3 separate regions of the Homo sapiens genome follow, and all the other regions are linked to region 2. Evidence: promoter capture Hi-C in human tissues and cell types (Jung and others, 2019). All regions are on one chromosome and are shown on one strand. The core of a region is centred on a gene start or on the middle of the fragment in contact, and the rest is flanking DNA. Distances in the headings are between cores, read along the strand shown.

The links. Contacts are between HindIII fragments. The study calls those that stand out against the background at their distance.
Region 1: a fragment that was not itself captured here is called in contact with the fragment with the promoter of ZNF518B in region 2 in 2 of the 25 tissues and cell types used here (dorsolateral prefrontal cortex and lymphoblastoid cells).
Region 3: a fragment that was not itself captured here is called in contact with the fragment with the promoter of ZNF518B in region 2 in 1 of the 25 tissues and cell types used here (H1 embryonic stem cells).

Annotation. Positions count from the first base shown.
Region 1 is chr4:11,400,747-11,404,469 of GRCh38, reverse strand. All of the region lies in intron 1 of HS3ST1 (heparan sulfate-glucosamine 3-sulfotransferase 1), which reads left to right. Among named protein-coding and RNA genes, the nearest start is that of HS3ST1, 26 kb to the left of the region's middle. The HindIII fragment of the contact is 8,106 bases long and covers 1-3,723 here.
Region 2 is chr4:10,455,370-10,459,203 of GRCh38, reverse strand. It overlaps ZNF518B (zinc finger protein 518B), which reads left to right and starts at 1,778. Exons shown (of 3, transcript NM_053042.3): 1 at 1,778-1,887. RefSeq lists a silencer at 1,663-2,302 and enhancers at 2,433-2,592, 1,855-2,670, 2,653-2,712. The HindIII fragment of the contact is 10,057 bases long and covers 1-3,834 here.
Region 3 is chr4:11,177,712-11,181,319 of GRCh38, reverse strand. No RefSeq gene overlaps it. Among named protein-coding and RNA genes, the nearest start is that of MIR572, 190 kb to the left of the region's middle. The HindIII fragment of the contact is 3,768 bases long and covers 1-3,608 here.

The DNA of each region.
Region 1 (3,723 bases), core at 981-3,480, 940 kb before region 2:
AATTGCCACCAGCCATATGTGTCCTTGAGATGTGCTACACAGGAAATATATATGCACTTGGATTTTGAAGACTGGGTAGAAAAAAATGCAAAATATTTCATTAATTTTATATAGTGATTAGGCCAGGTATGGTGGCTCACACCTGGAATCCAAGCACTTTGGGAGACCGAAACAGGTGGATCACTTGAGGTCAGGAGTTCGAGACCAGTCTGACCAACATGGCGAAACCCCATCTCTACTAAAATTATAATACAAAAATTAGCCAGCTGTGGTGGCACACACCTGTGGTCCCAGCTACTTGGGAAGCTGAGGCACAAGAACTACTTGAACCCAGAATGCAGAGGTCACAGTGAGCTGAGATCATGTCACTGCACTCCAGCCTGGGCGACAGAGGAAGACTCTGTCTCAAAAAAGAAAAATTATATAGTGATTATAGGTTAGAGTGATAACACTTTAGATCTATTAAGCTATGTAGAATATATGTTTTAAAATGTCTGAATGCATATGTTATACACAATATATTTATATTGGACAGTCCTGACACACATTGTTTCATTTCAGTCTCAAAGTAATCATTTGAAGCAGGTGGAATTATTACCATTTTACAGATGAGGAAACTGAAGCTAAGAGAGGTTAAGTCACTTTGACCAAGGTCCAAACTAGAGACAGGAATCCTGACTCCAGGGCCTGTGCAATTCATTTGGACCCTTCTACTGAACAGAACAAATGAGCAAGTTTGACCCTGTACTACACATACCCTGTGTGTCAGCTGACACTGGAAGTTGGTGGCCAGGGAGTTGTCATTGCTGGGTAGATTTTGTTGGGTTTTTCTTCTATGGAATCCCAAAAATATTGTCATTATTTTACATTACAACCACTTACTCGGAAGACAGTAGTAACAGCAACTAGACTACAGAACTGGACTTCTGGAGCCAAAAGTCCTAGGAACAGATTTACTATGTGACACTGGGCAAGTCATCTTGGGGTGTGAAAGGCAGGGACTAAGTGACTCCCTTCTTCCCTGATGTTTATAACTTCATTGTCAAGATCAAGGTGGCACACAGGAATGGCTTACAGGTTCACCTGAGCTTGGGAATCTTTTTGTTTCTGAGAGTGTTACAAAAAGGACCAGAAATCCTTTCTGTGCCACTGGGAAGTCCAAATTACAAAACCACAAGAGGAAGTTGGCTCCCAATGCCCACAGTGTGTATGTAATATAAAACAGGTTATACTATATTTAGCTATGAATATATGTGTGCATACATTTACACACACAAACACATATGTACTTATACACATTTTTACATATACACATAAAAGATACACATGGGGTATACACATGATATATATGCTATATATAGTATGTGTGTATGTATATGTGTGCGTATATACTTGCATATGTGTATATAAGACATTAGCTAATTTCTTTCTCTATTAGCCTCAAATATTTTTGAATGAAAAAGGTCTAGACATAAGTAAATACATTTTTAGAAAGGATTAAAATACAAACAAGGAGCTTATAAGCTACTTAACTTCCCAATACGTTGTTGTTATTTTCTTTCATAAAGGACAAACTATATTTAGTTTCTTCTCTACTGTCTGCTGGTAATTCTCCTTCAGGAAAGAAACCTCAGATGTACACTACACTAACCAGGATGCCTCAGGTTAGAGTTGAAGGAGCATAAACAGTCAGATAATATGAATTTCAGATCTGGCCTCTGCCTCTACACTTAGGTATCAAATAATATGAATGTGTTGTTCCCTGAGTCTGAACATGGAACTATAAGATGGTGATAGCAGTGACCAACACACAGTATAGCTCTCTAAAGGGTAGTAGTTAGTCCCTCTCTCACTTGACCTACCTGTTATACCTGCACACACACACACACATGCATGCATACACATACAGACACACTCAAGCATGCACATACAATTGCATACATTCTCACATCTCAAACATGTAAGAGCCAAGCACAATTGGTACATTTGGTCGAACCACATAGGTGACTTGAGAAGGAAATGAAATTCAGCTGAAACACCCTGAAACCATCACTTGACTAAAAAAATTGGCCTGTTAAATTTAGTTCACCAATCGGTAGAACCAACCTGAAACCTCATCGTTCTTGGCTATCCTTTCTAAAGCATTCTTGATTTTTTCTTAAAGAGTTACATCACTGATCTCTCAGGTCCCTTCTCCAGTGCACTGTGGTTCTCTAAAACCTTCCATCTATTTGATTACTTGCTCTTTAATATGTTTTTCAAAGAAGATAACAATATCTGAGAAAGGTAGATTAGCTGGTTGATCATAAAAATGGATGTCCTGGAATTTGTTCTTCCTTTATTCATTCTGGACAAGTTTTAAACTAATGAAGTAAATTTTGAAACTACCGTACAAAAGATGATGAGTCCTCTTGATGGAGAATATTTTTACTAGCTTTGTAAATCCCTCAGTCCCCAAGCCAGGCCTGTCTCTTACGCTTCCCTTAATGTGTTTTAACAGAGATGACTCAAGTGAAAGCAACTAATCTCCTCTTTAGGGGATAGCGTGAAACACAGACTGATGAGTATCAGCTCCTTGAAAACATAAACCCTTGACTGGTCTGTCTTGTGGAACCCCACAGCATCTAGGCCAGCAGTTCCTGTGTCCTTTACTGCCTAAATGTTATAAATCTTAAATAGGTAAAGAGGAGAAGTTTTGTGGAAAAGATGTGGTTTGTGGATAAAGAACACTGAGTTTAGAGTTTTCAATTTGGGCTCTAAATTTTGAAATAGACTAATAGAATTGTGTCCTTAGACAAGACTACCCTCTATAAAATGGTGGTGACAGGCCAGGCGCAGTGGCTCATGCCTGTAATCCCAGCACTTTGGGAGGCCGAGGCAGGCAGATCACCTGAGGGTGGGATTTCGAGACCAGCCTGACCAACATAGAGAAAGCCCATCTCTATTAAAAATACAAAATTAGCTGGGCGTGGTGGCACATGCCTGTAATCTCAGCTACTCGGGAGACTGAGGCAGGAAAATCACTTGAACCGGGGAGGCGGAGGTTGCGGTGAGCTGAGATCACACCATTGCACTCCAGCCTGAGCAACAAGAGCAAAACTCCATAAAAAAAAAAAAAAAATGGCGGTGACATCTGCCTTGCCTTCCTACCTTACAGTGTAGGGTTGTAGTGACAATAGCTGAATATAGTATGAGACCACATTATCAATAGTAAAGCTTTGTACAAATGAAGGCTTTTTTGCACTTTGTAGTAATTTCACTTGTTTATCCCTCCAGGCCTATTTCAAATGTTTCCTCCACTGTGAAACCATCCCCAATTATTTTAGGCAAAATGAATGAACATGTGTCTTCATAGTACCCTACCAAAATTACAATCATAACATATATCTCCCTGATGCCTACAGTCAGGCTGCGTCAATTAACTTTTGCCAATTTCCCGCTGCAATACAAACCACTCCAAAACTCAGGGGCTTAAAACCACAATCATGCATCTTCACTCATGAGCTGGGATGGCTCTGTGTGTCTTTCATCCTCCCTCTGGGACCATGGGCTAGCCAGGGCATATTCTTCTCATGGCAAAGCCAATAGTGAAAGAGGGTGAGCAAAAACACACAAGGCCTCTTGCAGCCAGGCTGGGGACTGATACGTTGTCACATCTGCTCATATGCTAGTAGCAAGGCCAATTCAAGAGTTGGACACAAGGTGAAGAATTGGGACTAATCA
Region 2 (3,834 bases), core at 529-3,028:
AGTCACTTCTATCTGCCAGGGACTGTGATAAGTCCTGACTTGCTTTCTCTTGTTTAATGTTGACAACCCCCTTGGGAGGAAGGACCTATTTTTCACTGAATTTTACATGAGAAACTGAGGTTCAGACAGGCTCACAACTTCTATGTGGCCGAACTGGGATTTATAACCAGTTCTCACTTCAGAAAAACTCCCAGGAGACCCACAGGTACCTTACATCAATTCTGTGTGACTTAAGAGGGCAGAACTGTGATGCATGAGTAGAAGTTATAAGGAGAGTTGCCTCTCCTTATAAAGTTTAGGACAATTTTCTAATGTCTAGACCTCAGATTCTCCAATACTTAGAATTAATAGTTTTTCCTGATGTGGCTCTGTTTGCCACTAGAGATTTTCAGGCAGTGGCTCCTAGTTTGGATTCTCAATGCCTTTCCCAACTTGACCCTACTCTTGAGGGAGACTTTGAACTCTCTGGCATATTCTCTCTGATAGGTGCTATCTGCACATAAATGTGTTTTTCTGAGAAGAGGTTCCTTAGCTTTTCTGAGCCCTAGGAGATAGAAAACCAGGACCCTAGCAGCTCCCTGATCAGGACCGAGGTTAGGAGCACTGCAGCCTAGGGCAGGAAGAAGGATTTGCTCTCTGGGCTGCTATTTTCTCTGCCCAGCTCCTGATACTTTAGTGGTGGAGGTTTTGCCCAGCTGCTGGACTTGTGGCTGAGCCTGTCTTCTTCAACTCCGCTTCTCCGTGTGGCAGTACTGCCCAGGCCCACATCTCCTCCGTGCAGCATACTGGCCGCTGTCCGTGCACGCCGACCTTTGGCCGCCAACAGGAAGGTGATGGAAACCAGCCTTGCCCCGCCCCCGCCTCCAGAGCTTTGAAATAAACTTTAGCTGTTCATCCCGAAGAAACTGTACTTCCCAGTGACGCTGCTCCCATGCCTCAACCTGCCCCTGCTGGAGAGCTGTTTCACTTTGTGGGGAGTCACTGATTGTGCGGGACCTGGCAATATGGTCTTCTTCTTTCCTCTTAGAGGCTCTATTCTAAATATGTCTTCCTTCCGGACCGTAGATGCAGGTGTATCTAGAGGGCAGTTGGCTCGCCCAAAATAGCACCGAAGTCCAGGAGGCAGGAAAGAAACTCTGGCATTAAATGAGCTCACACCCTCTCCAGACTCCCACAGTCATTGTCCCCTCTGACCCTCGCAACGCCCAACTGCTAGAGGAGGCTTTGCGCCTCACATACGACCTTCCCCGTCTTCAGAAATGAAGACACTGAGAGAGGTCAGGGGACTTTCTCGCCAAGGTCCAGCAGCTAAGATGTAAAGGAGTAGGGAGAGTCAGGATTTGTACCCAGGACTTCAAGGCCATCTCCTTCACTGAAGCTCTCCAAGAAGACGAGTTTGGAGGCTGAGGACCTGAGCTCCTCTTCTCTCGCTTTCACTCACCCACTGCAGGACTGCAGGCTCCAGGGAGGCAGGCGCCAAGGCCGCCCTCCGCGGGACCCGGTACAAGGCAGGCGCCCCGGGATGGCAGACTGGGCCAGGACCGAAGCCGAATCCTTCTTTTGCCTGCGGCATGGCTAAATGTGGACCTCGCTCGCTACGGTGCGAACGTGTTGGGTCAAGCTCTAAGCCCAGAAGTGGGGCTCGGCTGGGTCTGAGGCTCCCCGCTCTGGACAGCTTAGAAGCCCGGCGGGGGCGGGCGCAGCCTTAGAGACCTCAGGCGCCGGCCTCGCTGGAGCCGCGCCGCCGCTTCACATTGCGCACGCGCGGGGCTGGCGCGGGCTCCGCCCCCCGGGTAGGGACCTACAGCGGGCGCGGCGCCGGCGGTCTGCGGCCGGCGGTGTAGACGCCCCTTCGCCGGGACCTGGCACCCGAATCCGGCCTGCCGGGTAAGTAGCTGAGCGGGAGGGCGAGGGCCCCCGGATCCGCGTGTACGTGACCGAAGCGCCAGCTGCGGCCGGGTCGTGGGGGCGCGCGGGGCGGGGGCCTGACGGGGCCAGGCCGGGGCGGGTCGAGCGGCCGCGGCCCCGCGTGCCCGCGCTGAGGGCTGGCGTCGTGGCAAGTGGCACCGGGTAGGCCGAACGCGGGCTCCGGCTGGTGGGCGTGGGGCACCGGCTGGGGTGGGGGCCCGGGCCGCGGCTTGGCGCGCGTTGAGCAGGTACGCGGGCCTGGCCTAGGGTCGGGGTCCGGCCCGGCGCCCCCAGCTCGCCTTTGTGCGCCGCGACCCCGCGGACTCGGCCGACGCGCCGGGGCGACCGAGGCGGGGGTGGCAGCGTCCCGCGGGGCCGTTCGTGTGGCGCCGCTGGCCCGGCCTGCGCTCCCCGCCCCCAGCGTTATGAAGGATGCCTCCTCCGAGGGCTCCTACCGTCCGCGCCGAGCAGGAAGTGTCGTCAGGAGGCCATTTTTAAAGCCTCCTGCGGGCCTCGGAGCTGAGCGTTGACGGTTTTGGTTTTCTTCGGTTGGAAGAACCCCGGCCTTCCCTCGCGGCGAGCGGGACGCGCCTGGGAGACGACGATGCGCCCGATGCACCTGGCCTCGTCCTCCGAGCGCCCAGGCTCAGGCGCGCTCGCCTCGGATGCTGCCTGCCATCGGGGGAGCGTGCCGACAATAAACTCGAAAACCAGCCTGGCATTGTCTTTCCTTGAGAGGGTCAGGGGTGGGCTCGTCCATCGAGGTCCTGCGCATCTTTTACGGGGGGCGAGGACATAGGAGGTTGAGAAGAGATGGTGAAGGTTTGAATTGTTCCAAATGCTGATGTCATTGTGGGACCTCCCCATACCGGCCTGCCCGTCTTATCTTGGTGTCTTTGGGGTTTGGGGCTCTGTAAAGCCAAGAAATTGCAGGGTTCAAAAGAATGAAAGTTTCTTAACCAGAAAGGAAAAGCCAAAAGAGCGAACGGGAGAAAACACTTAAGTCTTTATAAGTTGGGTAGTTAATGTATCCCGTTACAATACCTCTGACTTTAAAAATTGTAATAATGAACGATTTATCAACGTAACATTAAAAAAAAAAACTACAGAGCATTATGTCCTATTTAAAAGTACAAATCTACGTAGCTAAACTCTAATGTTGTGTTAGACTCTTTAAACCATCTTAAGTTTAGACTTGAAATCACCAAGAATTAAGACAAACCTGGGTCTCTAGAAGCTTGCAGTACTCTTCTACAGTAGAGCAGAGACTGAGGATGGGAATACATCTCTTTTCTCTCTCTTGAGTCACATATGCAAAGTTCAGCCCAGCATATGATGTCAGTACACAGCCAAGGGTTCAGAAAATATTGTTTTAGAAACCAATGTTATATACTGTTGTCTCTTTGAGTAGAATACAAATAGTTCTTTTTTAAAATTGTGTGATATTGATATCTTTAACTAGGATGCAATTTTTAAAAGTTACTTTCATCTTGGATCAAATTTAGCCTTCAAAAATAACACTTTTTTGCGTAGACAGTTTGCTATGCTGATAACATTCATTGCAAATGCAATTTGAAAAGAGCAGACAAAGGATGGCATTCCTTTATTTATTGGGACTCCTTTCTGATGTATTATACCCGATCTGAAGATCTTAAAAATGCAAAATGGCAATTAAAAAAATCCATTTAGATCTCTAGAGATTTATTTGCCTTTAAGTAAGGGCATCGGGGCCAGTTTTTGTGCAAAAGGAAGAACAAAGAACATTTTATTTTTGTCTCTGTGAAGCCTGCTCTTTCATTCATTCATTCACTCATTCTTTCAACCAGTACGAACCTTATTGAGTGCCTTCCTTGGCCAAACCCTTCGCTATTGATCATGATAAACAAGATCCTTACCAGGGAGGGTTTCCCCAATCATGATTGTTCT
Region 3 (3,608 bases), core at 572-3,071, 720 kb before region 2:
GCCTAAGGCAAGCTAAAGTAAATTGAGCTCCTTCTTTTATTCATTCATTCAACAAACATTTACTGGATGCTGCCCATGTGTCAGGTACTATTTTTGGAACTGAGGCTATCAAGGTGAACAAAATATACAAAGTTCCTGCTTTCCTGGAGCTAACATTCTATATTGAAAGAGATTGAAATCGAACAATAAATAGGTATCTGATAAAGTTTCAGATTGTGATTGTGTGCTATGAAGAAATCTCAGATGGGGTAAAGGATCACAGGGTGATGGAGAAGTGCCCCTTTAGAAGGCACGGACAGGGAGGGCCTCTCCAGAGGGTGGCATTGAGAAGAGACCTGAACAAAGTGTTCAGCTGTTAGTCACTTCAAATCTTACTGAGTCCCCAGTGCAAAAAGCCTGGTCATAGATCTTAGCAATAAGCTTAATAAATTAAGAAATAGGACAGAATCACAGGAGTCCGCATAGGGCACTCTTCCTTGTCAATCTCACATGAAACTCTTTCTTTCTCTCTCTCTTGCATGCCCCATTTTTCTCCCTCAGAAATCATTTATCTGAGAATCATAGAATGTGCAATTGCAGAAAAATAGGATGTTACGAACAGAAAGAATTTTATGGGGGTAGAAATCATCTCCCACCACTCACAAACAGCAATTAACTCCATTAGCAAAGTCTCCACATTGTAATTGCCCAAACCACATTTGATCTATTTGCACAGTGAGAAACTCCCAACCATGAAAGTTGTCAATTATGCTGGCTAACTTCTATCTGTCAGTCATAGGTATGGCCGCTGGACTCAAACTGGACAAATACAGTCCTTTCCCTTCTACCTGTTGACCCTACAGACATCTATGTCCAGGTGAAAAACACATCTACTTTTCCTCAGTGTTGCTGTAGAGTTGCCTCATACCCATGCCTCCTTCCTCTGAACCACCTACCCCATTGACGGTTCTCCTTTGCTCTTTTTGGTTTATTTATTTATTTTCTTTCTCTGGAACTTTGCTAAGGATTCACCATAAACCAGGGGCCTGTAGCACATTCTTACAATTTTATGTCTTGGCATCTAATTTGAATACAAATTTAACTTGCTCATACCAGAAGCAGGACTCAGCCACCCTTGACATAGTTTCCAATTCTAAAGCCAAACTCATATGGTTCAAGGTGGTGGCCGGAGATAACCACTAGCAGACTGGGCTCCCCACTTTCCAGCCATTTCCTTTAAACAGACCATCCAGGCCTTTCCCTGTGACCTTAAAGTGGTCCACACCCCATTCCCTCATGTACATTGCTCACTGCCACATGTGTGCTCTCTCACTCTATGTGACTTCTTTCCTGCCTTGTGTGACTCAGGGACAAAGGACTTCCCTTCAGACTCATTGCACCCTCCCCTGCCCAGGATCTGTAAGTAAAAATCTTTAAACCTTTTCCTGTTATGGCGGTGGATGAAATTTGCACTTTCTCTCTGAAGAACAAGGGTTGGCTTTTCCCAACCCAGTTGGGTTTTCCCAGGGATGCCAAGGAAAACACAAGGTTGGACTCCCAGCATCAGGTTGATGGTCCAGCAGGCATAAACTGGACAGGGTGCAGGCAAGAGCGACAGGATCCTGCCAGTATAAATATGTTCCCCATGTGAGGAATCCCCTGGTTCTGAGTTAAACAGCTAAACATTAGACTGCCCACCAGGCAAAATAAGTATCCCATGAAGAACATGCTTCAATCTCCTATGTCCAGCTCCCCTTCGTATCCCATTAGGGCAGGGCTGCAAGCCACTCAGATACTGGCATTCAGTATAGATGCATGTGCTCAAAACATGGGTTCACAAGGAACTAAAACATCAGATCAATAAGACATAGTTCCTGATCTTAAAAAGTTAACTTCTATCGGCCAGGTGCGATGGCTCATACCTGTAATACCAGCACTTTGGGAGGCCGAGGGGGGTGGATCGCCTGAGGTCAGGAGTTCGAGACCAGCTTGCCCAACATGGTGGAACCCCATCTCCACTAAAAATACAAAAAGTAGCCGGGTGTGGTGGCACACACCTGTAGTCCCAGATACTTGGCAGGCTGAGGCAGGAGAATTGCTTGAACCAGGGAGGCAGAGGTTGCAGTGAGCCGAGGTCGTGCTACTGCACTCCAGCCTGGGTGACAGAGCGAGACTCCATCCCCCCCCGCCAAAAAAAAAAGTTATCATCTATCAGAGAAAATAAAGAACTTTTGGAACAAACCTGTCACAATGTGAAAAGGATTATTTTGGTAGAGAGAAGACAATGAGCTCTAGAAGAAGGGGAAAAGCCATGGCAGAGATGATCAGAGCCAGTCAGCACATGGCAAGGGTAAGTTATTTCAAACAGAGAGCACGAGGCACAGAGGCAAAGGCAGGCTCATGTGAAAAGCACATGGGGACTCCAACTTGGAACTGAAATTTAGTATGTCTGAAGACGGTCCCATAAATCATGCTGGAAAACTAGGTATGGAGAAGCTTCATTGTGCCAGACCATTCCATTGAGTATAACCAAGATCAAGGTAAGTTTGGCCATACATTGACCATAGGACAATCCTCATACAAAAGAGGATTTTTACTCCATTTGTTTCTGGAGACTAAAGACTATAATTATGCTTTCTGAGATGCATTTAAAATGGGGTTAGATTTCATCTCTTCATCCATTGTATCACGTGACTTTATCCAGTTCAAGGTCATAACTCCTTGAGAACGGGGACTAAAATATGTTCCCCTCACACCTCATGAAGGGAATAGCAATCATGTAAGTATAATAATTATAATAATAACGTGTTTGGCATGGTCGAATTTGCAGAACGATGTCATACAGACTATTTACTTTGAAGAGTAGACTTTTTCTTCATTTTATACATCAAGAGAGTTGATGGGGGTTCAGAAACATCACCCGGGCAGTCCCTATGATACAAATAGCAATTTCTAGAGGCAGGGCTAGAATGCAGGTCCTCTGGCTCCAAGCTAATGAGATTTCCTCAAATGTTTAGTGATTATTTTCCTCAGAGAGAGTAAATTTGGGTGGCGGAAGGAGACATAAAAGAAAACCACCTATTATTCTATGACCAGTGGAGCTACCAGACACTACACTACATTTATTTCTCATCTATGACCCATTTGCATTGCAATCACCAGGTTCTTGTAGAAAGGGTCTGGGAAGTCTAGGAGCTGCTGTCAGCTTCTCGGAGGCTCTTTAGCCTATTTCTGAGAATGTGGCTGCCTCTGAACGCAGGCTGTGCAACATGCTTCAGTGAGCATGGATAAGAAGCATGGACTTTGACTTAGATTACTAAAACCCATATGAACAGTCCTCTCTAAGGCAATGTCCTGTCAAGCAGTTTGGATAAAATGCTGGCCTTAAAGATACTAGACATGAGTCCTTTTGTCTAATTTTTTCCTTAAGAAAAGCACAAGATGAAGAGAGAATTGTCATTTAATGCCCTATAAGAAGGTGTTATATCATAATGTTAACAACTAAAATATTGCCAAGCTAAAGAATGTGATTAATATATAACTCTAATTCTTAAAATTAACTTTTGTGATAGGCATTTTGAATCCCCATTTTATGACTGAAGAAACTGCCAGAGAAGAAAAAATGAACA